Linked DNA regions of Homo sapiens: regions 1, 2, 3, 4, 5 and 7 are each linked to region 6. The links are contacts of gene promoters, found by promoter capture Hi-C in human tissues and cell types (Jung and others, 2019). All regions are on one chromosome and are shown on one strand. Each heading gives the region's core, a stretch centred on a gene start or on the middle of the fragment in contact. The rest is flanking DNA. Distances are from core to core; before and after follow the strand shown.

Region 1 (4,090 bases), core at 1,344-3,843, 160 kb after region 6:
AAGACAGAAAGTAGGGAGATAATTGAGGCTGTAGAAAAAGCATATGCCAAGGCATGGAGGAATGGGAACTCATGGCATATCCAGAGAGTGGCAAGAACTCCACCGTGGCTGGGGTATGGAGCGTGGAGAACAGAGTGGACCCTGAGATCGAAAAGGTGCCAGAGTGAGAAAGGTCACACATGTGCCATGCTAGAGACTTGGAGTTTCTAAACAATAAATAGCCATCCAGAGTTTTAAAAGGAGAAATAACTAGATGGGAGTTTTATAAAGATCACTTGGGCAGTAGTGTGGAATATCATCTGGAAAAGAGAAAACTGGAGGCTGGAGACCCAGGGCCACCATGTGAGGTTGTGTAGATTGTTCACTGCAGAAGTGTACGTGTGAGCAGCAGATGGGAGGACTTAGAACCACCCAGCACACTTGTCATCAAGCTGTGCACTCATGGGGCTTGGCCTGCCTAGAGAGAGCACCTTTTATAATTTACACAATGGGATGATCTACTTGCTTTTAATTGTTTTAAAAGTAATAGGTATGATTAGATAAGATGAAACAGTGTCCCCTAGGGCCTAAGAGTCTGGAGGTGGGCATACTAAGCTATTGGCTGTATGTCAATGGGCTCGTTCCCTGTCCTCTGAAAGCCTATTTCCTCATCTTTAAAGGAGAGTTAATAATAGGTTCTGACAGGGCCCTGGACAGACCAGTTAAGAGAAGGGGTGAAATATGAGAGATGGAGAAATGATAGATCTGGGACTGCAGGCTGCTGCTAGCTGTTGTTTAGCCCTGAGAGTGTGCTGGGAACTGTACTAAGAACTTTGCCTGTTTTATTTTATTTAATCTTATATCTGCTTTCAGCAGTGGATGTTATTACCCCATTTTCAAGATTTTGAAACTGAGCCCCTGGCAGGTAAAATAACTTGTCCAATGTCACACAGCCAAGGAGTGGCATTGTCACTACTTGAACCCACCACTGTAACTGTCATGTTTATGCTCTTAACCATTTTGCCACATTTATAAGTGATCTTTTCTGTTTCACTCCTTTAATATCCTCCTTGCATCCTGTGTTGTTTTTAACTTGAATTGATCATATTTATGTAACATTTTATTTAATTTGCTATACTATAAGATCCCGAGGGCTGGGGTCAGGTCTCATGAATTTTTTTGTCTTTCGTAGCACCTTGCTTAATAAAATATGGCAGATAACACTCAATAAAATGTGGTTGACAGAGGCTGGGTGCGGTGGCTCATCCCTATAATCCCAGCACTTTGGGAGGCCAAAGCAGGCAGGTCACTTGAGGTTAGGAGTTCGAGTCCAGCCTAGCCAACATAGCGAAACCCCGTCTCTACTAAAAATACAAAAATTAGCTGGGCGAGGTGGCATGTGCCTGTAATCCCAGCTACTCGGGATGCTGAGGCAGGAGAATCGCTTGAACCCGGGAGACAGAGGTTGTGGTGAGCCAAGATCGCACCACTGCTCTCCAGCCTGGGTGACAAAGGGAGACTCCCTCTTAAAAAAAGTGGCTGATAGAATTAATAATCTCTAAGATTCCTTCTGTCTTCTAAAGTTAAATAATTTTTCATTCTATAGGTAAAGCTTCAGTTGCAGTTATACAGTTAAAGTCCAGTAGAACTTAAAAAGGGCTTCTTGGATGTTAGTTTGGTGTTTGGACTGATGGTTAAAGTTTCAAGAAATTCCTAATTGCCATTTTATCTGAAAAATAATTTGTGACTTGCTGTCAAAGACTGAAGCGAAGAGTAAAGTGTACTTCTTGCAAGCCCTTTTTGGAGGCTATAAAGCTATGCTTGCTGCTTCATTGCTGCAGCAGGTATAAAACTCCAATGTCATAAATGATATTTTTGAGTTCATAAAAAATATTACATTGTCACTCATATTAGTAAGGACCTCAGTCTCTAAACTCATGTGGAGCCCCTTGGGCCAATGGTCACTTGTTTTTTTCTTCTTCTTATTTTTATTGACAAATAAAAATTGTATACATTTATAGTATACAACATGATGTTTTGAAATATGTATACATTGTGTCAATCCTAAATTAAGCGAATTAACATATGGATTACCTCACATAGCTGACAGTCACTCTTGTTTGGTGCCTGCTGGAGTCAGATTTAGACAACAAAGTGACAGTTAAGGGCAAGTGACTGTCAGATGCCCTGGAGTCAGACTGACTGTATAGGTTTGGATTCCATCTCTTCTGCTTATGAACTTTTTTTTTTTTTTTTGAGATGAAGTTTCGCTCTTGTTGCCCAGGCTGGAGTGCAATGGCACAATCTTGGCTCACCGCAACCTCCACCTCCCAGATTCAAGCGATTCTTCCGCCTCAGGCTCCCAAGTAGCTGGGATTACAGGCGTGCGCCACCACGCCCAGCTAATTTTGTATTTTTAGTAGAAGTGGGGGTTTCTCCATGTTGGTCAGGGTAGTCTTGAACTCCTGAACTCAGGTGATCTGCACTCCTTGGCCTCCCAAAGTGCTGGGATTACAGGCATGAGCCACCGCGCCCGGCCCTTCTTACGAACTTTTTAACCCTTGGCAAGAAAAAAATCTGGGAAATGAGGATGGGTAAGAAAACAGGTTGTGATCATAGGTTCATGTACCTGGTTCATTAGGAACTTAGGGAAAAAAAAAATCCTTATCCACTTGGAAGCCACTTTTTGCTCAGATACCCTTAAAAGGAAGCCAAAATTGTGAACTTGTAGGACAGAATTTAGCACTTCAGCGTTATAGCCTATGTTTATCTCAGGATGACCCTTTGCTGTTTTTAAAGCAGAGTTCACGTGCTCTTGTAACTACTGACTGCATCTACTCTCATGAGCCCTAAGGAGGTAGTTTAGGCTTTGCTTCATGCTCTGTGTGCCTGAGTAAAATAGGAAATGATGGCTTTTAAGAAAATGGAAATTATTACTTGAGATCAACATTTCATCTGGGCTTTGAAAAACTCTGGGGTTTCTTTCATCTTCCAGGAGAGCAGCACAACTGAGCTGTGAGAAAGGAAACCAAACCCTAGGGAAAGTTTTATAGCTCGTTTCTGCTGATGTTACTGGAAAAGAGGAAGGTAAGGGCCTCTAAATAGCTCTCGTAGCCTCAGTCGACAGTAAGTTCAGGTGTTCTGGAAATAGAACACAGGGGAGCTCTTTATCCCCATTGGCCTCTGCTTGGCCTGAAGGAGAGGGTGAAACAGCAGCAGAATGGATCTCTTAAAACATTGTTGTACAGCAAAAACAAATGTATTCCCACAGCAGAGTTTCATATTTTCTTTCATGAATTTAAAGTTGAACAGAGGCCGGTGATATTTTTCTCTTTTGAAGTTTTACATCTTAGATTGCTGTAAGAGCAAGCACAGTTGAATGAAAACTCTATTCAGACCAAGTACTTTTTTTTTTTTTTTTTGAGACGGAGTCTCACTCTGTTGCCCAGGCTGGAGTGCAGTGGTGCAATCTCGGCTCACCACAACCTCCGCCTCTCGGGTTCAAGCGATTCTCCTGCCTCAGCCTCCCGAGTAGCTGCGAGTACACACACGCGCCACCATGCCTGGCTAATTTTTGTATTTTTAGTGGAGACGAGGTTTCACTATGTTGGCCAGGCTGGTCTCAGACTCAGACCAAATCTTACTCTTGTTGTCTGTAGCTGCTTAGTTCTGCGCTTTAAACTAAGGGCAAACTTGGCTCCTGCATTCTTGACAGTGAAAAGCAGGAGCTAGGAATGCCGACTTTAAAAACCCACTTCCAGGTTTGCCTCCACCCATTATGTGATTCCTGCAAGAAAGCTTCAGTCTGCTGTAAGCTGGTAATCCCTTAATACTTTGATACTTTGGTAAAGCAAATAAGATCAGATTATATAACTTTTCCTTTTACTTGTGAACTAATTATTGTTTTCCTGCATTTAAAAGCAGATGTTAAACTCCTCCTTTGATGTTCAACAGCAGACAGACTCTAGTTGTGCCTTACAGCCCTTGATGCATGTCTGTTGTTTGAATGAAGATCAGCTTTGGCAAATTAGATTTTGATGGCTGCATTTTGATCTGGACCATAGAAGAGAATGGCAATTTATTCTTTTATTCAACATTTATTGGATTCCTG
Region 2 (3,688 bases), core at 60-2,559, 200 kb before region 6:
CTGGGTGACAGAGCAAGACCCTGTCAAAAAAGAAGGAAGGAAGGGACAGAGGGAGGGAGGGAAGGAAGGAAGGAGGGAGGCAAAGAAATACCTAAAATGATTTTTCTTTTCCTTACTGAACACTAATACACCATCCTAACTAAATTTTCCTCTTTAAGCTCTTTATCCTTGTAATTACTGCCATGAAACTCAGCCATAATCAGCATGTTCATCTTCCAAATAGTAAATGATACAAAAGTATCTCAGAAATCATAACTTGTACAGTGCCAAGCATGTTATTGGCAGTTTTGCATATCCTAGTTCCTTATAAGAACTCTATGAAATCAATATTATTTTTCCCATTTTATAACTGAATATAATGAGGCTTAGAGAGCAACTTCAGCAGGTTGAACAGCAACTAAATGACTCAGGATGCCTCAAAAGTTCATATAAGTTCATGCAAAGTCATTCCACTCAAGTACACTATTTAAACACTGTCAGTTCCTTCCCATTGTCTCAGGAAAGAGTTCAGCTTCCTTAGCCTGATATTCAAGAAAGGACTCACAATCTATTTTTTTTTTTTTTTTTTTTTTGGTGACAGAGTCTCATTCTGTCACCAGGCTGGAGTGCAGTGGCACAATCTCAGCTTACTGCAACCTCCGCCCCCCAGGTTCACGCCATTCTCCTGCCTCAGCCTCCTGAGTAGCTGGGATTACAGGTGCATGCCACCACGCCCAGCTAATTTTTGTATTTTTAGTAGAGACGGGGTTTCACCATGTTGGCCAGGATGGTCTTGATCTCTTGACCTCGTGATTGGCCGCCTCTGCCTCCCAAAGTGCTGGCATTACAGGCATGAGCCACCACGCCTGGCCCACAATCCATCTTTAACTCACCTTTCCAGCCTTGGCTCCTACTCTCTCCTTGCCCAAACCCAAACTGAACTATGTGCTGTTTCCTGCACATATGTGATTAGTATTATTCCACCCCTATTCAATTACTAGGTACCTCTCAAGATCTGTTCAAACTTTGATTTAATTTCAACATATTTATTTGGTTTTTTTACAAGTCACTCATTTTAATCATTTTGTAGTAGCAAATAAATTGGAAGCAAGATTAATGTGCAAAAAGAAGGAGATTGGCTTGTTACAAGTTCTTCCTTTCATCGAGTGAGATACTATGCATCCATTTTTTTAAAAATTTTGTGGGTACATAGCAGGTGTATGAGGTACATAAGAAGTTTTGATACAAGCATACGATGCATAATAATTACATCAGGGTAAATGGGGTCCATCATCTCAAGCATTTATCCTTTCTTTGTGTTACAAACAATCCAATTATACTGTTTTAGTCATCTTATCAACATACTTATTAATTGCCTCCTATTTTCAAAATATCTTTCTCTTTCTTGCCCTTCCCTGAGGTTTCCCATTTCGTAGTTCCTCATCTATTTATCCATTATTTGCCTTATAGTCTAGTTATGTTCTTATTTTAATACCTTTACTAAATAACAAAGTCTTTGAAGGCAAAGATGCTATTTCAAGGATTTTTTTTAAATCTCCAGTCAGATGATTTGCAAATGTTTTCTGAATGGATTTGCATAACTGTTCACAAATGCAGCATCATGTGATTTCTTAAAAGAAATGAAAGTCAAAGGCCATGGCTTTGTCCAAAGTCTACCTTCACCTTCGTTAGGGATGTGGCCTCCAGAGCCAAACTGCACACTGCCTACGTTCTAACTCAGCCCCAGCACTGAGTGACTCTATGATTTGGGCTAAGCTACTTAGCCTCCCTGGGCCACTGTTTTTTCACTTATAAAATAAAAATAATAAAACTACTTGCTTCAGTACTATTGGGAGGATTAAATGAGCAATTTATGTAAAGTACTTACAACAGTGCCTAGGACAGAAAAAATGCTCAAAAAATGTTAGTTCTTATTAATATCACATCACCTCTCAAGCCAATGGTATAATGGACCCAGTTAAAATCCACATAATTTCCCTACGTTATATAAAAATATCAATCCATAATTCTCCTCAAGGTCTCTTTCTAGAGGCCTCCAGAAAATAAACTGTCTATACCTATTCAACAAGATAATCAAATTTATTACAAGCAGAATAATGTCAGTAAGACTGTGAAAGCAAGATGAAATTAATTGCCAATTGAGAAATTAAGGTATATATTTCAGAAAACTTGTCTAAATTGAGAGCTATGTATCTAATAAACTCAAGAGATTTGTTACATCTACTGTAGAGAGCACACGTGCATTTTCTCTGTATCTAACCAAAGTATAAGTTCTGAATTTTCAGGTTTGATATGCCAGGTTCCAAGTAGAATTTCCCTTTGTGCCCTCAAGCTCTGATGGTCTTAGCCTCTGTGACAGAGACTGCTGCTCTTACATAGGAAGAGAATATTGTCTTCACACCTTGAAACTCAGCCCCCATACTGTGAGGGAGCCCGGGCCACATGGAGAGGCCACATGTCGGTATGGTGGTTGACAGTCTCGCTAAAGTCTCAGCTGACCTGTAGCATCGACCACCAGACATGTGAGCAAACAAGCTTCAGATGATTCCAGCCCCAAACCTCTGAGCTGACCCAGCTGACAGTGAGTGGAACAGACAAGCTAGCCCTGCAGAACTCTGACCAAATTGCTGGTCTGTGAGTGAAACAAATGCTGTCATTGTTTTCAGCCACTGTTTTGCCATTGAAAGTAATGCTAAAAAGCACAATTATTTTGCACCAACCTAATAACTAGAGCAGATGGTTTGTTATAAAGCAGCAGCCCATTGATAAAGGCAGCATCTCCTCCCTCCCTCTGCCTTAGCGTCTCTGTCAAAACTGCAACACTGGTCAAAGAAGATGGTCAAGGGCATACAGTATTGTTTTCAATCTAGATGAGTCTGATAAAAAAGCAATTTTGTCTGATTAGTTGCTTAAGACAAGGCATATTACTTGGTGTACCCAGGGAATTTGCAATTGCTCTTTTGGGCATGAAAACATCACACACATGCACACGCACACACCCAAAACAATCAAACATAATAAGAAAAATGAGAAAATTTGCATCAAAGATGCAAATAAAACTATCCAGGGTGAGGCCAAAAACAAAAATTGACATAAACCTAAAATTTAAGCTGTGTGAGAAATATAAACCTAGCCATGTTTCTGGAAAATGGCCATTAAAGCTCATGCAGCTATGGAGTCGTAAGTTTTACAACCTCAGTAGGCCAAATCGTCTCACTGACAAACTCACTATTGCCATCAAAGATACTGATCCAGCTGTTTCACTGGTATTACAAGAACTCATGCAGGCAAAAACAAACAAACAAAACAAACAAACAAAAAAAAGTGTGTCTCACATCCAGGAGTTAAATAAAATTGGAAATAAAAGAATGTTGAAATGCAAATTCACTAACCAGGTAAGTAATTTTACTAGTCATTTTAAAGGAACAAGAGATTTCTTATGTGTTAGTATCAAGTCAGAAGGTACCACCATTGGATATCTTGTCTGAGGTCGAAGAGTCTTTCTTTAACAACAGGTTAATGTAACTACCATGATTAACAAGACTCTTGACATTACAGACTAACTACAGCAGTAACAATTTAGGATTTGAATAAGTCACCAAACTCAAAACATTAAATTAACTTGTGCGCTGAGTCGAAGCAACTAAATGCAGAGGTCCTCATCAGCATGTTTGCCATACAGCTGTTT
Region 3 (4,194 bases), core at 1,052-3,551, 170 kb before region 6:
CATGTGAGAAAAGATGTCTTGGACCTTCCAGCCCAGCCCCGGCACCAACTGAACACAGGGACCAGCCAACACCCCATGGAACAGAATTGAACTAGTCAACTCATGGAATCTTAAGAAACAATAAATTGTTGTTATTTTAAGCCACTAAGTTTGGAGTCATTTCTTATACAGCAATAGGTAATTAAAGCAATCAGAAAAATAAAAAACAAACCATATATACATTCAAGTGTTTCCCCCCCAAAACTGGAATCACAGTGACACAGCACAGCAGTAAGACAGACGCAAAACGACTAGAGTAAGCAGCCATTTCAAAAGAATGCCCGCTCATTTGCAAGGGTTTTGTTGTGCTTTGTTTTTTCACTAAATGCCCTCCCTCATTTAATTCATCTGTAGCCAAAGAACCACTTGCACTACTTTTTTCCTTCTCCAATTAGCATGCAAGGATTTCCCTCATGTTAAGAGAATGTGATATGCAAAGTCACTGGACCACTGTCTTGCATAACAAACCAAAGTCTTTTGACATCAGTGAGAAAATTCCTCAAGAATGCAAAGAACATAATGCCGATTGTTAAGTGTGAAATTCCAGGGTATTAACCCTTTGAGAGATGCTGTCTTGTTCAGTTTTATTTTGGGTTGATCAAAAGGACCGTGAAACTAGATTGGAACATTATGCACCAGACTCCACTGCCTACTTGAAAAAGAATTATACTTGGAACTTGATCTTTTTAAGATCTCCCATATGTCCTGTATTTTAACAATCAGGTTTTAAAACAGGAAGGATCGTTGCCATTGAAAAATGGTGTCCAGCCAAGTAAGCCTCATAATTCAAAGTAAAAATCTCAAACTATAGCTGTCATTCAGGCCTTAATGTTTACCTTAGGAAATGTTTTTAAATGAAAAATTGATGGCAAAGCTTTGCCCAAATGATGCTATTCCCAACAAGGATAGAGACCCATGGATTTACTTGCTAGGACAATTTATTGAGAAAGTTGTCAGGGATGAGAAAAATGAGAGAATAATTCAGACAGGAAGGTACAGCCTATTTGTTTTTCTAGCTTCTATCTTTACCCTTACTTCTCAGTACTAACCCTCCTGTTAGGGATGCAGATCAGGGGCCACCTGTCCACAGAATCTGACGTTATACGTAAAGAGTTACACAAAGGACAGGCTTCCAGGTCTCTAAAGTTCTCTGTTAGGAATCAAGAGCAGCAACACACTCATATTTTAAAGTCATCCAGAAAAGAAGTTTAGACTGTACAAAAAGTCAACAATACACCCTGTTATTTTTAGCTGCCACAATTAATCCACTCAGACAGTGTTCACACAACACGCATCAGCCAGCAATATAACCTCCCTATTTTAAACCCAAATTTATCTGTACTATAGAGCTGAGTGGGGAAAAACAGCAATTTTGAAATCAAACAATCACGGATTTAAATTCCAGTGCTAATCTTACTAAGTATACTGCCTTGGACAAATTATTTAACATCCTAGCCTAAATTTCTTCACCTGCAATGTGCAAGTAATAGTCATAGCTGCCTTACAGAGTGGAGAGAAGATTAATTATGATTTCATAGAAAAAAGAAAACTTCAATTAGGAACTAGGCACAGAATCATTATTCAATTGGTGTTAGTCATTATTATTAAAATTATCAAAGTTTTTGTTTTCTTCTCCTATAGTATGAACACCAATCCCCTCAGCCCTTAATCATCCATTGCTGGCTGAAGTAATCACCCAAAACTCATAATAGCACAAGAAAAGATTTATAACTTAAAAAGTGTAGAGGATTCAGTCTATATGTAATGTAACAGATGATGGGTGAGGGAAAATGTGAGTAGAGAAGAAAACATACACATATCATAATAAAATAAGATCTTTGCGAAGTCAACTGTGACTCCAAGAGAATGCAGTCTGTATTTATTTTCTTGGAAAGTTAATGGAAAACTAATTCAGCTAGATGCCTTTTACCTCCTTGATGTAGTCCCATGAGATAAAATGTAATGAAGTTCTTTAAAAACCAGTAAGCACTGTGCCAATAGGGAATATTTATTGGGTGCTTGTTACATGTCAGACACTGTTGGCATTTTATATAAACCATATACTTAACCCTCACAACAAGCCACTGAAACAGTTCTTATGCTCTTCATATGACTGGGAAGGAAGCTGAGAATTAAAGAGATAAAGCAATCTGCCCAAAGTTCTACAGGTAAGAAGGGGCTGGCCAAGATTCCAACTCTATGTCTATAGATCCTCAAAATCTGCTCTTTCCACCAAGCAGGGGGAGGTGGTATGTCTCAAAGCTTTGACCCTTCCTCTGAATTTTGCAGAGAAGAAGGGAAACAGATTACATAATCATTTTTCATTTCATGTCTAGACTCTAGGACACAACCCATAACCCACTAGGAAGCAGACAAGAAGCATGGGGCTGTGAGCCCAACACTGGAAATGCATCTGAGGAGGATGGAGAAATAACAGTCTGAACATTCAGTTGCAGTTTAGAAGGTCAGCACCAACTTCTGACAGATGTCTGCTATTTTAAATGACAAACTTGCTTGTGCATTGTGCAGAATTGCTACACTTTCCGTCATGAAGCCATAATGCTGGTTTATTTCCAATTTCAGCACTGAAAGACACATAGAAAAAAAAAACAAAACAGAAAACCAACTGGCTTTCAATGGAATTCTGTCTGAGATTTAAGCCAGCATGTAATAAAAAAGTTATTCTCCTTAGGCACATTCAATTTTTAGACTGCTAAAGCATGGCAAAACCACAAAAATGATGTCTTTCACATATAAAGATTCAAGAAAGGACCCAAACATTATGTAAAATTAAGTAAAGCCAATTTTTCTTCATCATATTTAAGTTCTGAAGATTATTTAGTAGCTATTTGTAACTTTTGGAACATACTTACAAAAACTGGAGAAATGAAACAACAAAGGAAACATTCCTAATCTTTTAAAATACAGAGATGGGGGCAGGGTGCCCGATGGCTCAAGCCTGTAATCCCAGCACTTTGGGAGGCCGAGGCAGACAGATCTTGAGGTCAGGAGATCGAGACCATCCTAGCCAACGTGGTGAAACTCCATCTCAACTAAAAATACGAAAATTAGCCGGGCGTAGTGGCACGTGCCTGTAGTCCCAGCTACTCGGAAGGCTGAGGCAAGAGAATCGCTTGAACCTCTGGAGGCAGAGATTGTGGTGAGCCAAGATCGCACCACTGCACTCCAGCTTGGGCAACAGAGCAAGACTCTGTCTCAAAAAATAAATAGATAAATATAATAAAATACAGAAATGGTTTTAAAAACATCTTAGCTTCATCACCATCATTTTGAAATTCCTATATAAAGCTATTTCCCCCAAAAAATATAATTTCTCTAGAATTAGAATACACTCCATTCATCTTTGTGCCCCTAGACTCTATTATGGTATTTGACTTACGTAACGTCTATACTGTATTAGGAATTTAGTGCTGTTCACCAAATATTTCCAATTCTCCTTCCTCCAAGAACATTATAGGATTGTGTTTCCCTGCCCATCCATGTGAAGTTAGGCATGGCCATTTGACTTGCCTTTCATTGACTGGCCAATGAATATGAGCAGAAGTAATATTACTTCTAAGCCAAATCCCACAAGACAGTGTGCATGATTCACCATGTTTCCTTTCCTTCCCTTGTAACTGGTGACAGGGGGATATCTATCAACGTGCATCTACATGAAGGCCTACATGAAGGCCAGCCCTCCATGGATATGTAGCATAGCCAATAAAGAAAATGGTGTTTCTTTAAGCAACTGAGACTTGGGTATCATTTGTTACTGCAGCATCATCTAACACATCCTGTCTGATAAAAACACTGAATGAAAATTTAATGAAGAAAAATCAAGAAAGGCAAACTGGAAAAATATAAGTGCCATGACCACTTCTGCGGACCTCACCATCCTTTTTCCATAATTCTTTATAGGTTCAAATCTGAGAATACTGTGCTTACCACAGCCTGATACAAACGCTAATATAAACCAAGTTGAATATTTGTTTGAACAGAGCATCATGCTGCCAAATGCCATTGTTGTCGCCAGCACCTCTCAAAGATACTCAAATCTGTAGAGAACAGTCTGTTCACATAGCTTATGCCAGAATAATAAGTATGTTCCTCAGAAATGAGTACCCTTCACTCGGTGGCTATGGCTAAACGCAA
Region 4 (3,742 bases), core at 867-3,366, 210 kb after region 6:
ACTATTGGGTTAAAAAGAAGAAAGAAAAAGAAAAAGTCCTTTGGGCATCTAGACAAAAAAGGGAAAAACAGTAATAGAGAATTAGATTGTTCTTAGACTTTTTGACGGAAACTCTTACGCTGAAAGAAAAGTCATACCTAAGGTATTCAAAGGAAACAAAATGTGAGCCAGTATTTTTATATCTAGCAAAATTGACCTTCAGACATAAAGAACACAAACTTATGAACATGCAAAAAAATCAGTGGAGGAAATATTGCTCCTCATGAGCTCCTCCTAAGGAACCTTCTACAGAGTGAGCTTCAAACAACAAAAATAACTGGAAAGATGTAAGATGAGCTTGGGACATCTCAAGATAATAAATAGGTAACAAGGAAGCTATCAAAGATTATTAGGGCATGTCAGAATGACTTAGGAGCCAACTTGAAGAGGCTCCTACTGGCCAAAAATAAAATTGCAAATATGTTTAAATCCATGAGATTATGATATTAAAAAAAATATTGGTTCTGCAGTATGAAGAAAAGGTTAATGGAGCACCATTTCATCATCTTGAAAGTAGTTAGGAAAGAATCAGCTTCTTTCTTACATGAACTGTACCACTGGAAAACCAAGTGGTAGATGAAGGAAAGCATCTCCTAAAATTTTTCCACCCAGTAGATGAAAATGAAATTAAATAATTGGAATGTCACTGTTTTCCAACCCCTGTGGATTTAGTGGATTTAGGCATTGAATAACAATGGCTGCTAACATTAGAAATGAATGAAAACCAGATACCATGTGCTTCCTGATGAAAGATCATACCACCACAGACTGAATTTCAATCTGTTCAAGCCTCTGAATCTAGCTCCAATTTGCAGGCAATTCAGAGGTTGGAGAAACGAGTTAAACATGCACCACCAAAATTCATACTGTGGAAACTCCATAACTCAGACAGCCCAGACTCTTTCAACAAATAAGTTGTAAGGAAAAGAAAAGGATAGAGGCGATGTAGATTAAATAACTTAAAAGACATCAAAATTTTAAAAATAGACAGCACTAATGGTGACTAGGATTATACACTCGGGTAACAGAATCATAAAGAAATGCCAGGAACTGATTACCATAAATTCAAGAGTTTGTTTACTTTGGAGGAAGGGAAGGGCATGGAGGGCCTTCTAGGGTAACAAGCAAAAGCTGTGTTTTGATTAAGATGGTAGTTATGGGTGTTTTCTTTGTAGTAAGCTATTTGTTTTGTGTGGTTTTCTTCATCTGTGTTTTATTTTACCATAAAAAGATTTTAAAATATTTTTATGAAAGAATGACACTATACATACTGCCTTTCTCCCAACTTTTATTATGAGAAGTTTCAAACAGAAAAATTGAAAGCATTGTGTAGGCAATACCTATATACTCATCATACTGTTTTACAGTTAGTTTTTTTCATTTAGTGTTATTTAGTAAATATCTTTCTGTGCAATTAAATATAGAAGCAGCCTCACTTTTAAGTGATGCATAGTATTCCATTGTAGGATGTGATCCTTTATTTAATCAGTTTCCTAATGATGGACATTTAACTTGTTTTTGATTTTTTTCTAATAGAAATAATACTGCTTATTTGTCCTTATGATAAATACCTAAAATTTGCTTTGTCACAGCATATTCTAATATGCAAAGTATAAATGCTGATGTGCTGTGAATGAACAGTTAGCAGTAGAGACTAAAGATGCAGCCTGTATTAATCAAGACAGCCCTGTGTAACCTAGGGAGAACATAAACCTCAAAGAAAAAAATAAAAAATAGATTCCCCCCGCAGGATCCTCACATAGCATTATACCTTTCTTGGATCAGTTTAGGTTTCATCCCACAGCTCTTCTACAATCTCATTTGGTTGTTGTGGCTATAACTAGTGTATCAATTGTGTATTGCCACAATTAATGCTGCATAATGAAGCACCCCAAAATTCAGTGGCTTAAACAATAGCCATTAGTATTTTTGGGATGGCTGAGTGGTTCTTCTCATAGTCTCTGCTGAGCTCACTCATGTGGCTACAGTCAGCTGCAGGGGTAGTAGACAGATCTGCTGATCTTTGCAGTGTTCTTTCATGTGTTTGATGGTTGGCTGGCTTAGGGTGGTCAAAAATGGCCTGACCAAGAAGATTCAGCCATCCTACCCAAGTCTCCCAACACCCTTCCAACAGGCCTAGGCATATTCTTATGGCAGTAGCACAGATCCTGTCTTTTTCAGGGGAGCAGAAATGGGTCCATACATTCTGAGCTTCTGTGTCATCCCATTTGCTAACATCCAGTTGGCCAAAACAACACAGTTGAGACCAGAGCCAGGGGAAAGGGATTGCAAGGTTACGGAGTAGAGGGCAAGGATGCAGAGACGCTGTTGATTGGGGTCATTAACTTAGTCCTCTATAGTTGTCCAATAGCATATTTTAAATTGGCACATCTTAGAAGCATTAAACATTGCAGTTATTTCTAAATTGCAGATGTTAATGCCTTTGGAATATGAAAGTTGGGGATCAGGCCGGGCACGGTGGCTCACGCCTGTAATCCTAGCACTTTGGGAGGCTGAGGCAGGCAGATCATGAGATCAGGAGATGAAGACCATCCTGGCCAACATAGTGAAACCCCATCTCTACTAAAAATACAAAATTTAGCCAGGTGTGGTGGTGCGCACCTGTAGTCCCAGCTACTCAGGAGGCTGAGGCAGGAGAATCGGTTGAATGCAGGAGGCGGAGGCTGCAGTTAGCTGAGATCACGCCACTGCACTCCAGCCTGGGTGACAGAGTGAGACTGCCTCAAAAAAATAAAAAAAAAGAAAGTTGGAGATCAGGTATATTTGTGGGGGAAGCATAAAGCTTTTGCTTCATTGAAAAAATTTCTGATTAAGTGTTATAAAGATAACTCTTAAATGGAAAAATCTACATTTAATGTTATATCTTGAAAATATTTCTTTTCCAGTTGTTGGTGTTTTCCCCTGGGATACATTTCAGAAAATAGGCTTTTTTTCTGTCTGTGCATATTTTTCTTTGTTTGATAGTGTTCTTGGAACTGGTTTTGAAATCTCACTTGGAGAACACAGAATGGAGTAAGATAAAGAGCTAGGATCATAAATCAATGTCCTTAAGTATTTTTGCGAAAGATAAAGAAATTGGTGATAGGATTAGTTCTTGGACCTTTATTGCCACAACTTTTTTCTCTCTGTTTTAGACTATATAAGTGGTAAATTAAGGATCTCTCAATGCTGTGATTTTTAACAGCAGGTATGCAGTGACCAGCTATGTGAATGGCAAAAAAATTATTACCAGTAACGGTTAATGTTCCAAAAATGTAAGAAATTCAAGTTTATTCCCATAGAGTACAATGTTATATGCCAATTCAGTGTGTACACTTCTGTGCAGAAATAAAAATATTGGAATGAAATTTTGCATTCCATATACTTATTAAATACTCTTCATTATGCATGCATTACAAGACTATACACATTTTACTTGTTTAACTGAAACTGTGTGTATTGTACTAAGCAGGCAATTTAAAGGATTTTTTTTTAAATAGTTGACTGTTATTGAATTTTGCTTTATTTTCTGACTTTAAAACCCACCCCCAGAGTGAGTTAAAATTTCACACATGTAGCCGGGCATGGTGGATCACACCTGTAATCCCAGCACTTTGGGAGGCCAAGGTGGGGGAATCACAAGATCAGGAGATCGAGACCATCCTGGCTAACACGGTGAAACCCTGTCTCTACTAAAAATACA
Region 5 (3,619 bases), core at 713-3,212, 160 kb before region 6:
GACATACGGATTTACAGTCTTAGCTGCGGCCAAGTCAAAGTGCATTAGATTAGTCTAGCGTGTCTAAACATCTGACTCTAATCACTACGGTAAGGATCAAGTCAGGCATTAGAGGCTTATAAGTATATTTCATGGAATGTGAGAAGTTGAGAGGAAAACAGTTTTTAAGGGGGTAGATCGGGATAACGGTTTTTTAATTTAAGATAATCAACTTCAGTAGTACGTGAGTTGTCTCTCCCTCTCAACCCCCTTCTCTCATGCTAAGAACTCGGCTACGTCTAGTGCTGTCAAACCAAGAAGGTCAGGAAGAAAACAGAAGAGGGATCTGTCAGTGATCAGTGGTTTTCATACTATTCATTGTCCTATGTTGTCCACACACACACTCTTCCTGCCCCCCCATCCTGTTAATATGAATAATACAGGATTATATCATGTTTTATTTACTCCCAGATATTTGGGAGAATGAGTTATAATAAATCTGTAATCTAATCTTTTCTCATGTAAACATAAGGAATTGAAGTTTAAACTAAATATATTTATTACCCTCTAATGATATTTCCCATTCTACCAGGCTGGAGAAAGGCAGGCCCCTGCCCCCCTTTAAGGTCTGCGTTAAAACTGCACCAGCTAACCCCGGTTTACTAATCCTCAGTCATTAATCTTCTCCCTCAACCACTTCCTTTTTATAAACCACAGGAACCTCTGCTAGTCTTTTTTCCTTTAACCCATTTATCCTCCTCCTACTTGAGGTCGGCTTTACATTATGTGGAACTGATCTGGACATTAACCACTCCACAGCATAATAGCCATGTTAAATAAATATTCACTGCCACCAGAACAAATGGCATAAGATGTTAACATCTTGCCATTTCTCTTGGTCTTTATACTACTATTGCTATTTTCTTAAAAGTTAATTATAGGCCAGGGTCACATCTATTATCCCAGGACACTGAGAAGCTGAGACAGGAGGATCACTTGAAGCCAGGATTTTGAGACCATCCTGGGCAACAAAGCAAGACCCCATCTCTACAAAAAATACAAAAAAAAAAAAAATAGCCAGGCATGGTGGCATGTTCCTGTAATCCTAGCTACTCAGGAGGCTGAAGTGGGAGGATCGCTTGAGCCCAGGGGTTCAAGGCTGCAGTGAGCTATGATTGCACCACTGTAGTCCAGTCTAGGCAATGGAATGAGACCTTGTCTCAAAAAAAAGTCAAATTGTAGATACATTTTCATGGCTCCATGAGACTTCAAACCATTTGGCCATAAGGTAACTTACCTGGAAGTTACCTTACAACACACAAAACTGATATTTAAAAAAAAAAAAAAAAAACTTATTATGTCTACATGTTGCATATAATAACATGGCTCTCTGTTAGTTTTTTTAAGACAAAGAGGACTCAGGAGAAAACAATGTCATGAGCAAAAATTTAAACAACTTACAGATCAATATGTAAAGGAAGGAGAAGGGAATTTGACATTTATCAAGTTCCAGATATTGTCATGCACATTATCTCAATCTTCAAAGGTGGTAGATAAGCTTATCCTCAAAAAGTCCTTTCCCTTTAGCTATGAGGATCTCCAGATTTGAGGCCCCAACTTCAGCAACTTACCTAGGTTACAAAGCTGGTAACCCCCAGAGTTGAGCTAAACCATTTTTTTTAGTGCAAAGTCAGTGATATCACACTAGTCCCCTAGATGAACATCTTCCCTTTTAATTTTTTCTCTTGACATGGTGGATCCTTCTTGCCATCCACTCAGCCAGAAGGCAAAGGTCAAGTGTACTTGAATCCAGAAGGATGTGTTTCAATCCCAGCTCTGTCCTCACTTCCCCAGAGTCTCTTGGTCTCTCATTTAGCCTCTCTACTGCTCATTTCCCCACCTATAAAGCATGATTCTAACACATGATGGTATTAGAATATAATGCAAAAAACCTTCTCTCTTTTCCAATGCACTGACTTTCCCATACACATGCATACATATATAAACTGACCCAATTACTATATTCTTTTTTTAAATACTGCCCTAAATATTAACGTTTTAGTTTCCCATTTTACCTCTATTTCCCCCTATGACTATAAAACCTCATGTCACTTAGTATCCTTAAGTAACCTCTGTAGATACTGGGATTATCTAAGTCTTCAAACCCGAAAAGTGAAAGAAAAATGCAGATTGAGATATGCAATTCAGCACCTAGAACAACAGCCATCATATCTCTTCAGTACCTAATTATATTCCATGTCTTAGTATCCTCTAATTTTCAACTTGACACTTTTTTCAGACACTATTAAAAATATTTGGCTACAAGAGGCATGAGGAAGACCAAGTGCCATATGAAATCTTCAATTTGTACCTTTAATAAATTGCTGCTCAGCTGCACCAACTCCAATGCCCCGCTGTGAGGATGAGATCTATGGGTCACAGCCTTAATACAGAAGAAAACATTTTTTTAAAAGGGAACTTAGTTGGACATAGCTAATAATCTCTGCTAATGAGGCTGGTTTTTAAAAATGCACATTCTCTGTGATCCATGTAACAGGTTTTCAACCTGTGTCAGGGCTATCCTTTTTTTTTTTTTTTTTTTTTTTTTTTTTTGAGATGGAGTCTCGCTCTGTCGCCTAGGCTGTAGTGCAGTGCAGAGATCTCGCTCACTGCAACTTCCACCTCCTGGGTTCAAGCAATTCTTCTGCCTCAACCTCCCGAGTAGCTGGGATTACAGGCACCTGCCACCACGCCGGGCTAATTTTTGTATTTTTAGTAGAAACAAGGTTTCACCATTTGGCCAGGCTGGTCTTGAACTCCTGACCTCATGATCTGCCCGCCCCGGCCTCCTAAAGTGCTGGTATTACAGGCGTGAGCCACCACACCCAGCCTATCCTTTTTTTTTTCCCTAAAAGCTGAGTCCATTGGCAGATGGTGGACCACAAGAGTGAGTGGTGGAGCGATCAATCCGGCAATGAATCCCAGCCATTTGTGAGAGAGGAAAAAGTCAGGTTTGGTTGCTTAAAGCTTCAAGGGAACTTCCTGATAAAAAGAAAAACAGCAAGCTGGGCAGTAGCCTGCACCTATAGTCCCAGCTACTCAGGAGGCTGAGGCAGGAGGATTGCTTGAGCCCAAAAGATCAAGTCCAAGCCTAAGCAACATAGTGAGACCTTGTCTCAAAAAACACAAACAAAAAAAACAAAAACAAAACCCAGCAACATAGTAATTTTCGGCTGAGAAATTTTGATCATGTTGGCCATGATGAGATAGAATGCCATGCAAGCAAAGGAACAGGTTATATATAAAAGTTTTTGTCCAAATTCTCATCTCTCTATTATCCCAAATATAAAACTTAGTAACTTAAGAACACAGGCTCTGGAGCCAGACTGCCTGGATTCAAATCCTAGCCTGAATACATTTTAGAAACATTTGTAAATGAGACATTCTAGGTGAAAATACACACTGTAAAAATGCTTTACAAACACAGGCAATCATTCAAGTGCTGAGTTTGAGAAGACTAAGAGTCTTCAATGGAGTCTAACGTAATAAGGGAGAAGAAATAACCTGATGGTGGTGAAGAATGTCTTGAGCTGTGTGAACCTCTACAAACAGCAAGACAATAGAATGGAGTTCATTTATC
Region 6 (4,061 bases), core at 336-2,835:
AAAAAAAAAATCTGACGCTGTCTTTCAGATACATCTATCCATGCACACTTGTAGGAGGAAAATCATTTCAAGGGAAATGCAAAGGTGCTTTCAAAACTGAGCTAATAACCCCCTATTTCAGTTAGCTACAAGGTCAGAGATGAACAAGGATAAGTGAAGAGGAAGGAGGTTCCCACACAGAAACCATACACAAAATGATTAAGCTTTAAGAAATACATTCAAGAGGCTAAAAACCAAGTGTGCAAGTGGTGGGAGTGGAGAAGAGAGAAGAACCCCTTAAGACCATCAGAAACCCAAGTAATGGAGGCGGAGAATTAGCGAACCTAATTGTTTCCCTGCGATTTAGGTCAGCCCTTCCCCCTCCATTCTACAGCTAGGTGGGAGTCTGAGAAGCAAACAATGAGTTGACAGGTTATAGCCCTTAAAGGGAAACCAGCAGCCATTCCCCGGAACCGGAGGCTCGAAAAAGCCCAAGTTCGAGGGAACTCATGAGTAGGATGAATGATTTCCCTGGATAACGGGATAGATGGAACTGAGATACTGCCTCTCTTCCAAATTTAAGGCAATTGTGGACGGATGGGCAAGAAGGCGACAGGCACCGCTGGAACAGGAGCCCAGGGAGTAGGTACCACGAAAATGCAGGCTCCTCCCTTCCTTGTAGGCGCGCCCCGCATCACCTACAGGGGAGGGGGCGGGGCGGGGAGCCCCCGAGGACTCAAGCTGGGGAGCGGCGTGCACTGCCGGCGGCCGGCGCATCCTGGGCCCCACGCCCTACCTGGGCCGTGAGGGGAAACAGCAGCAGCAGCGCGCAGGCAGGCGCTGGCACCGAGCCCAGAGACTCCTCTTCCAGCCCCAGCACGTCCACGAAGCGCCACTGGCCGGCGACCCCCAGCCGGGACAGCACCTGCGGAGAGGAGACAAGGCGGCCAGGCGCACGGGGACACGCGGGTCGCGGGCACCTGCCAGGGGGCGGGGCCAGGAGGCGCGCGCCCTCCGCGCCCGCACCCGAGCCTGGGAGGAGCCCCAGTCCCGCCCTGCCACCCCCACCCGGGCCGGCGCAATGACACAGCACAAAGCGCGGCCCACACGTGGCGCCCGCGAAGCCCGTGCAGCCGAGTCTGTGCTGCCCGCGCCACGCCCTCGGGAGCTCCGCCTGGCGCTCGCTCGCCACGGGGCGCAGCCCCCTCCGTCTCCCCGTGACCGGTTTCGTAGAGTCACCCGCTAAATGCAGGGGCCCAGGAAAGGCGCCCAGCCCACGCCCCAGCCCGGCCGTCTCCGGTGCTCGCAGCGGGCGGCTTGGTCCCTGCCAGCAGCCGGAACCGGTGGGCGCCCCCGCCTCGGCGCTCGCGGGGGAGGGGGCCAGAGACGGCGCGAGACGCCACTCACTTTGTTCAGCATCTGAAAGGCAAATGCAAAGAAAAAGGCAAAACCGAACCGATCAGCGACTCGGCTCCCCCTCCCTCGGCCTCGCGCTCTCCGGGTAGCGGTGCACCTGGCGCTCACCTCGGGGTTGATCTCCATCGGCTTGAGCTGCATCTTCGCGGAGCGCCCGGCAGAAATAGCCTAGGGAAGACGAAAAACAGCTAGCGGAGCCGCCCAGGCTGCAGCTATAAAGCGCCGGCCAGACGCACTGTGAGGCCTGTGCAGGGGGAGCAGGGGCAGAACCAAGCGAGGGGGAAACGGACGGTCGCGGCCAGATGGGTACGAACCCCCCGTGCGCAGCGCGGAGTGGTACGGCCGGGCCCCCAAACCTTGCAGTCTCACTCGCCGGTGAGATAATCTGGTGGTTGTGGAGACGGGATTTGTTGGTGGGTGTTCCTTGAGTGTATGGAGCAGTCCTTTTGATGGAGTCTTTAATTTTGGGCGAAGTTTCTGGAAACCCATCCTTTCACCATCCCAATTACTCTAAAGCTCGAGTCTCTGAAGCATTTGAGAAAAAGCACAAATTCAACAGGTATATATTTAATACGAATGAATGTAAATGTGTGCCCCCCGCCCCAAATCTCTCAGCAGTTTGCGTTTAACCTTAGACAATTCCTCCTCCATGTTAAGTCAGACCAGTACCGAGGTTCGTTTTTAAGTGACTACCTAGAATAAAACAGAATCTGGTAGATAACAGATACTGCATTAGGAATGCTGATGTAATGTGACTCCCGCGGAAGAAATGGTTGGTCCTGGGAGAGCAGTAGAAAGCTGGGGGATGTGAGGGTAATACAAGACACAAAGAAGGCAGGCGATTGGAGACTTGAGAAAACAGATCCAGGGAAAAGATGGGTATGATTTTGAGCGAGAGGCTGTAAAAGGAAAAGCATTTTTAAAAGAATGGGAAGCTTTGAAAAATAAAATGTCTGAGTTCACCGCAGAATACTCCCAATGAAGAAGAAAGGGAATGGCAACCAAGGAAACCACTGTTCTCTAATGATCTCAGGTGATCTCTAATGATCTCTAGTCAAAAGATGGAGAGAGAAAGCATTTGCTGAAGAATGAATTTTAAAAGGGACCAAAATCTATAAGAATTGTGCCAGGAAAGCTAAGCTGCAGAACAAAGTGGGCTTGCAGAAATACTTAGGTAGCGAAGGAAGCAAGAAGGTTGAGTATTTTTTAAAAATAGGCACCGAAGAGAATAATGATGATGGTAAAAGAATAGACCTTCTATTTAGGAAGTTGAGGTTAACAGATGACAGAGGGAAGGGAGGGAATCAACATTTTTTGAGTTATTGTTTTTGGGGATCCTTTGCATGTGTCTCTCATTTAATCCTTAGAGGAGCCGTGAAGAGACTCATATTAGTGCAATTTTACAGATCAGAATCCCAGGCCTAGAGAAGTTAATTTGCTTACGGTCACAATTGAAAAGTAAAACTGAGAAGTAAACCCTGCTAAACTGGGCTCCAAGAGCCCATTCTTTATCTAAGATTCCACAACATTCTACTTCTATTTTCTTTCCATTTTTGCCATTAGAAAATGACCTTCACACACAAAAATGAGAGAGAAAAAAATTAGTAAGAGGAGCTTAATGGGTGAATCTTATGGTATGTAAATTTTCCCTCAATAAGGTTGTTAAAGAAAAAAAGAGGTGAAGGTCAAGACAAGTGACTAGGTTATATTGAATGAGTTCTTGCCTTTAGACAAAGACAAATTACATTTCCAATTTACTTCATTTATTCATTCACTCAACAAATATTAAGAACCTACTGTGTGCTGGGTGCCGAGCTTGGAAAGTTTGGAATTAGGCATACAAAGATGAACACAATAAACATGGAAATTTCCCTCATGCCGTTTTTTTGTTTGTTTGTTTTGTTTGTTTTGTTTTGAGACGGAGTCTCGCTCTGTCGCCCAAGCTGGAGTGCAGTGGCGCGATCTCGGCTCACTGCAAGCTCCGCCTCCCCGGTTCACGCCATTCTCCTGCCTCAGCCTCCGGAGTAGCTGGGACTACAGGCGCCCGCCACCACACCCGGCTAATTTTTTTTGTATTTTTAGTAGAGACGGGGTTTCACCGTGTTAGCCAGGATGGTCTCATCTGCTGACCTCGTGATCCGCCCGTCTCGGCCTCCCAAAGTGCTGGGATTACAGGCGTGAGCCACCGCGCCTGGCCCCCTCGTGCTGTTTTTATCAGTCATAAGAGTTGTATGAAAGGGAGCAGAGATCAGGAGCACCTAACCTAGTGGAGGGGATCAGGAAGGCGTCCTGAAGGAAGTGACATTTAAGCTAAGGGCTGATCGGCAAGCAGACGTTAGCAGTTATAAGTGATTGCCAAAATAACTAATAAAAGCAGTCATGAAATCACTGTCAGAAATATTTGTTGAAGGCATTAATTCATTCACATTCATATACATATATGGCCTACTGTTTGCCAGGAAGCATCAGAGCAGTGAATGAAACAACTCCCTGCTTACAAAGAGATGCCAGAGACTGGATATGAACAAACCTAAGCCTAATCTTTTTTAAAAAAAAAAAAAAGAAGAAGAAGAAGAAGTAGGGGGTGATTGGGAATATACTGCTGAAACTGCAGGCCAGAAGAGTTTATATCAGTCATTAGCCAAATGTTAGGACTCATAATTTTT
Region 7 (3,997 bases), core at 654-3,153, 190 kb after region 6:
AAAATTGCTTCTTTGCTGATTTTAGAAAGTTCTGTTTGTATTTCTGAAAGTAAGGCAAGAAACAAAGAGAATAGAAGAAATTTAAGGGAAATAAGGTAATATATGTGAAGGTGCCTTGTAAACTGCTAAATCACATTACAGCAAGTGTTGAACTTAAAGTGAGAAAATAAGATCCACAAAGATGCTATAAAGAAAAATGGGAGAAAGAGAAAAGAACTTAGATAGGAAGTTGTTAAGAAGAAACAAAATGGGAAAATCATAATGGGGAATTTTTACATTCTAGGTTTTTTTTACTCTGAAAATTCAGGAGTAGTTGTTCTTGCTATATGAGCAGTGAAGTAAAAAATATTTTTTAGCCGAGAAGAATGTTCTGTGGAAATAATTGGGAAAAAGAATCTTATCTGGGGTGGTGAAAGTTGGATAGAAACTACTAGGCACAAGACCTAGTCTAAAAAAAGGTCTAAATAAAGATCTGTGTGTTGTAGGGGGTTATGTACTTAATTAAGGTGTAATTCACATTTGTTACCACTTAATTAAGGTGTAATTCGTATTTGTAGATCTCTTCTGAGCCTTTCCTTTTGTTCTCAATCATACCTTTGCAAGGCAGATATCCTTAGCCCATTTTACAGATGAGGCTTGGAAGGCTAATTGATTTGCCAACAGTCACTTAATGTATGCAATGGTAAAGTCCTCCCTTTCTTCAGGTTCTGAGTTTGTTCCCACATTTCTAGATTGTTCACATCAGGGCAATTGGTTTTGTTGTGTTTCTGGAGATTCTGCTTATTGAATTTCTCCAAAGGAGGTGCTTGTTAAATAACAGTGGTCACTTAGAAATAACACGCTCCGGGCAGGTTTTTTAGGCTTGGCTAAATGACTTCAAATGAGTTCTGCTTAAGGAACACTATTTGAATTCCCTAAGAACCAAGAAATAAACAAAAAAGGCATCACAACAGCCCAAGTATGTGTTCAGAGGCCGTGCCCTGTGCCCTTCAGATCTTATCTGGAGCTTGGTATTTTAAGTTTCGTTCTCTTACACTTCATTATTTTATTTGAATTCCAAAATCATAGCTGACTTGAAGAAGGGAAAGGTTGGTACTATAACAGAAATGAGATGCAACTCTTTAGGACAAAGGAGAGGAGATAGCCAGACTGTGAAAGGCAGACACATATCCCCAAAGCCTAGCCGCCATCTGCCTTTGAGTAGAGGAATAAACAGCCCTCTGTTGCCTCAGAAGCTTCTGAGAACAGCTGTCTTGCCACTGGCCTTTAATGGGCAGGTTAAACCCAGTTACCAGCAGGATACACACAAAGCCAACTTCACACCCTCTCCCTCTATTCGCCATCAATTTATCTCCAACTCAGATCCTGACTCTAGTCGGCCACAGCTCTTGACTTCAGACCTGGCTCTGTAACTTGGATTTCCCCTTGGGCTCTCCAGAGTGTATTTATATCTGTGCTTTCCTTGTTGTGAGAACTTCAGCAGTCTCTTCCTTTTGATTCTCATTGCACCCTGTGCTTTAGTAGTAACTCCCCATCCAGCTCTCTTTGTGGTGGTAGAAACCCAGCTCCTACCCAGTAACTGCTGCCACTCCTTTTCCTTGGAGTTAGTATTCTCATGTTCCAGCAGAGCAAGTAATTTATAGTCATGTTGATGATCCTGTGTCACCAAACAAAGATTAATCATATTCTGGATTCTCTGAAGAAGGCATTACCTTTTAGAAAAAAAAATTAATCCACTATGGTTGAAATTAAACCCATTTTGATACTTAAATGGGTAATCCTTCAGCTGTTTTGAAAATCGTGATCATTCTCAATGTCTTATTCTTTGAGATTTTTTTTAAAAAATTTTAATTGTTTTTTTTGAGACAGAGTCTCGCTCTGTCACCCAGGCTGGAGTGCAGTGGCATGATCTCTGCTCACTGCAACCTCTGCCTCCCGGGTTCAAGCGATTCTCCTGCCCCAGCCTCCCAAGTGGAAGAGATTACAGGTGCCCGCCACCACGCCTGGCTAATTTTTGTATTTTTAGTAGAGATGGGGTTTCGCCATGTTGGCCAGGCTGGTCTCGAGCTCCTGACCTCAGGTAATCTGCCTGCCTTGGCCTCCCAAAGTGCTAGGATTATAGGTGTGAGCCAGCGTGCCCGGCCTATTCCTGGAGATTTTAAAAAGCAGAAATTATATTGTACTATAACTGCAGAATGATGCAGAGAATTATAATTATTGAATTATAGAATATATTATTTTGGAAGAGCATAAGCAACCTTTTAGATAGCTTACATCACCTTTCTATTAAAAATTGTTGCTTTAAGTAAAGCCATTTAAAAATTTTTTGTGTACAAACTTATCTTTTAGGTCAACAGCAGGAAATGCTTAAGCAGAGCTATTACATATCTTAAAATAGTGAAATGAGCATTGTAGAACTAGTGGCTGTTGGCATGAAATGTTTACTTTGGAGAGAATTCTTGGCATTTTTGCCCCACATCAGCATAGTAAGAACTTGTAGGAGAGGAGGGAAGCATTAATGTATTTGTTGAGGATTAATGACTTTGTAGAGCATTTGTGATAGTGAATATATTATGGCTAGTACCGTAAATGCAGTAATTAAAAAGCTGCACACTAAACACTTTGTAGACTGGCAAATATATTCCCTTCCTTTCCTTGATGGCTTGCATTCAAGTGAATAGCGTATATTTATCTTGATCTTAGCGTTCTTAAGAGTAGAAAGAAGTCTCAAAGGTTGATTTCCTTCCCGAGATATTGCTAGTCAGATGGACACAATCAGATTTGATGTTTTCAGGATCAAGTTATTTTTTAACAGTTCAGAAAAATGTCACGTGGTACATACTAATAAAAAAAACTATTCCTCACCTTTGGAAGCTTTATTATTAAAGTTATTTTTAGACAAATATTACCTTGTGCTGCTGCGTAATATAAAATGTGTTCAGGCCAGGCATGGTGGCTCACGCCTGTAGTCCCAGCACTTTGGGAGGCCGAGGCGGGTGGATCGCTTGAGGTCAGGAGCTCAAGACCAACCTGGCCAATGTGGTAAAACCCTGTCTCTACTAAAAATTAGTCGGGTGTGGTGGTGCATGCCTGTAATCCCAGCTACTTGCGTGTCTGAGATACAAGAATCACTTGAACCCAGGAGGCGGAGACTGGAGTGAGCCGAGATCTCACCACCGCACTCCAGTCTGGGCGACAGGAGTGAAACTCTGTCTCAAAAAATAAATAAGTAAAATAAAATAAAATGTGTCCAGTAAGATCATGATACCTCAGGGCTTCTTTTATTATAAAAGAAGTAAAATTGTGAGTAATAGAAATATATATTAGGACTAAAACAGACCTGCAACCAAGGTGAATTTTTAAAATTTTCAAGGAAGCGAGACTTGGTTATCTCATGACTATTTATCTTACTGCCCCAGCAGGTTAAACTGAAGTGGGTTGTGTGAATGAGCATCTGGGAGGAGAGGCACCATGCTGTGAGAGTAATGATGTCCTGTCCTTCACAGGGGAGGATGACAAAGAAGGCAGACAGATGTAAAGTCTGCAATTTCTGTTGCTTTGTGTCCTCAAAATGTTCATACCCATCTATTTTCCCATTTAAGAGGCATCTTGTGTTTCATAATTTCTGAGTCCTCCCACTTAACATGCAGTATTTACTTACAAGTTCATATTTATGAGTTCATAAAGATTTTCTTCTGTGAAAAGTATAAATGCAGCTGAATGTGATTTGCAGCTTTGCTTTGAGTCAGTTAGGGTAGGAAAAGAAGAAATAGACTATTTCTGTTCTCACCATTTAATTGGCCTCCTTACCTCCTAGTTGTGAAAGCTTTTCACTAATGTATTGGTTTATTGATTTATTTCACATTTATTGACTGCTTACTACATCCTATGCCCCGAGGATACAGAGATGAGTGTTCCAGTTAGTAGGCATCTGATGCCTTTGAAACCATCTCTGTCCTGACTGACTTCAGTGCAGATAGCATTGGTTCTAAAATCC

The links. The method cuts DNA at HindIII sites, captures the fragments that hold promoters and counts their contacts. A contact is called where the count stands out against the background at its distance.
Region 1: a contact is called between a fragment that was not itself captured here and the fragment with the promoter of UCHL1 in region 6, in 2 of the 25 tissues and cell types used here (hippocampus and stomach).
Region 2: a fragment that was not itself captured here is called in contact with the fragment with the promoter of UCHL1 in region 6 in 1 of the 25 tissues and cell types used here (bladder).
Region 3: a fragment that was not itself captured here is called in contact with the fragment with the promoter of UCHL1 in region 6 in 1 of the 25 tissues and cell types used here (hippocampus).
Region 4: a fragment that was not itself captured here is called in contact with the fragment with the promoter of UCHL1 in region 6 in 2 of the 25 tissues and cell types used here (dorsolateral prefrontal cortex and hippocampus).
Region 5: a contact is called between a fragment that was not itself captured here and the fragment with the promoter of UCHL1 in region 6, in 2 of the 25 tissues and cell types used here (hippocampus and mesenchymal stem cells).
Region 7: a contact is called between a fragment that was not itself captured here and the fragment with the promoter of UCHL1 in region 6, in 2 of the 25 tissues and cell types used here (dorsolateral prefrontal cortex and hippocampus).

What each region holds. Positions count from the first base shown.
Region 1 is chr4:41,092,000-41,096,089 of GRCh38, reverse strand. All of the region lies in intron 3 of APBB2 (amyloid beta precursor protein binding family B member 2), which reads left to right. Among named protein-coding and RNA genes, the nearest start is that of APBB2, 120 kb to the left of the region's middle. RefSeq lists an enhancer at 436-595. The HindIII fragment of the contact is 4,749 bases long and covers 219-4,090 here.
Region 2 is chr4:41,455,658-41,459,345 of GRCh38, reverse strand. It overlaps a transcript of LIMCH1 not described here. Among named protein-coding and RNA genes, the nearest start is that of LIMCH1, 81 kb to the left of the region's middle. The HindIII fragment of the contact is 5,437 bases long and covers 1-3,688 here.
Region 3 is chr4:41,429,344-41,433,537 of GRCh38, reverse strand. It overlaps a transcript of LIMCH1 not described here. Among named protein-coding and RNA genes, the nearest start is that of LIMCH1, 110 kb to the left of the region's middle. RefSeq lists enhancers at 1-248, 249-951. The HindIII fragment of the contact is 3,886 bases long and covers 359-4,194 here.
Region 4 is chr4:41,041,053-41,044,794 of GRCh38, reverse strand. All of the region lies in intron 4 of APBB2 (amyloid beta precursor protein binding family B member 2), which reads left to right. Among named protein-coding and RNA genes, the nearest start is that of APBB2, 170 kb to the left of the region's middle. The HindIII fragment of the contact is 8,647 bases long and covers 1-3,742 here.
Region 5 is chr4:41,410,930-41,414,548 of GRCh38, reverse strand. It overlaps a transcript of LIMCH1 not described here. Among named protein-coding and RNA genes, the nearest start is that of LIMCH1, 130 kb to the left of the region's middle. The HindIII fragment of the contact is 4,812 bases long and covers 1-3,619 here.
Region 6 is chr4:41,254,452-41,258,512 of GRCh38, reverse strand. UCHL1 (ubiquitin C-terminal hydrolase L1) reads right to left here and starts at 1,585. Exons shown (of 9, transcript NM_004181.5): 1 at 1,504-1,585; 2 at 1,387-1,398; 3 at 776-904. The coding sequence starts at 1,536. It overlaps UCHL1-DT (UCHL1 divergent transcript), which reads left to right and starts at 1,786. Exons shown (of 3, transcript NR_102709.1): 1 at 1,786-1,954. RefSeq lists an enhancer at 375-875 and a silencer at 710-1,469. The HindIII fragment of the contact is 4,741 bases long and covers 1-4,061 here.
Region 7 is chr4:41,069,546-41,073,542 of GRCh38, reverse strand. The region is part of intron 3 of APBB2 (amyloid beta precursor protein binding family B member 2); the gene reads left to right. Among named protein-coding and RNA genes, the nearest start is that of APBB2, 140 kb to the left of the region's middle. RefSeq lists an enhancer at 3,214-3,764. The HindIII fragment of the contact is 4,450 bases long and covers 1-3,997 here.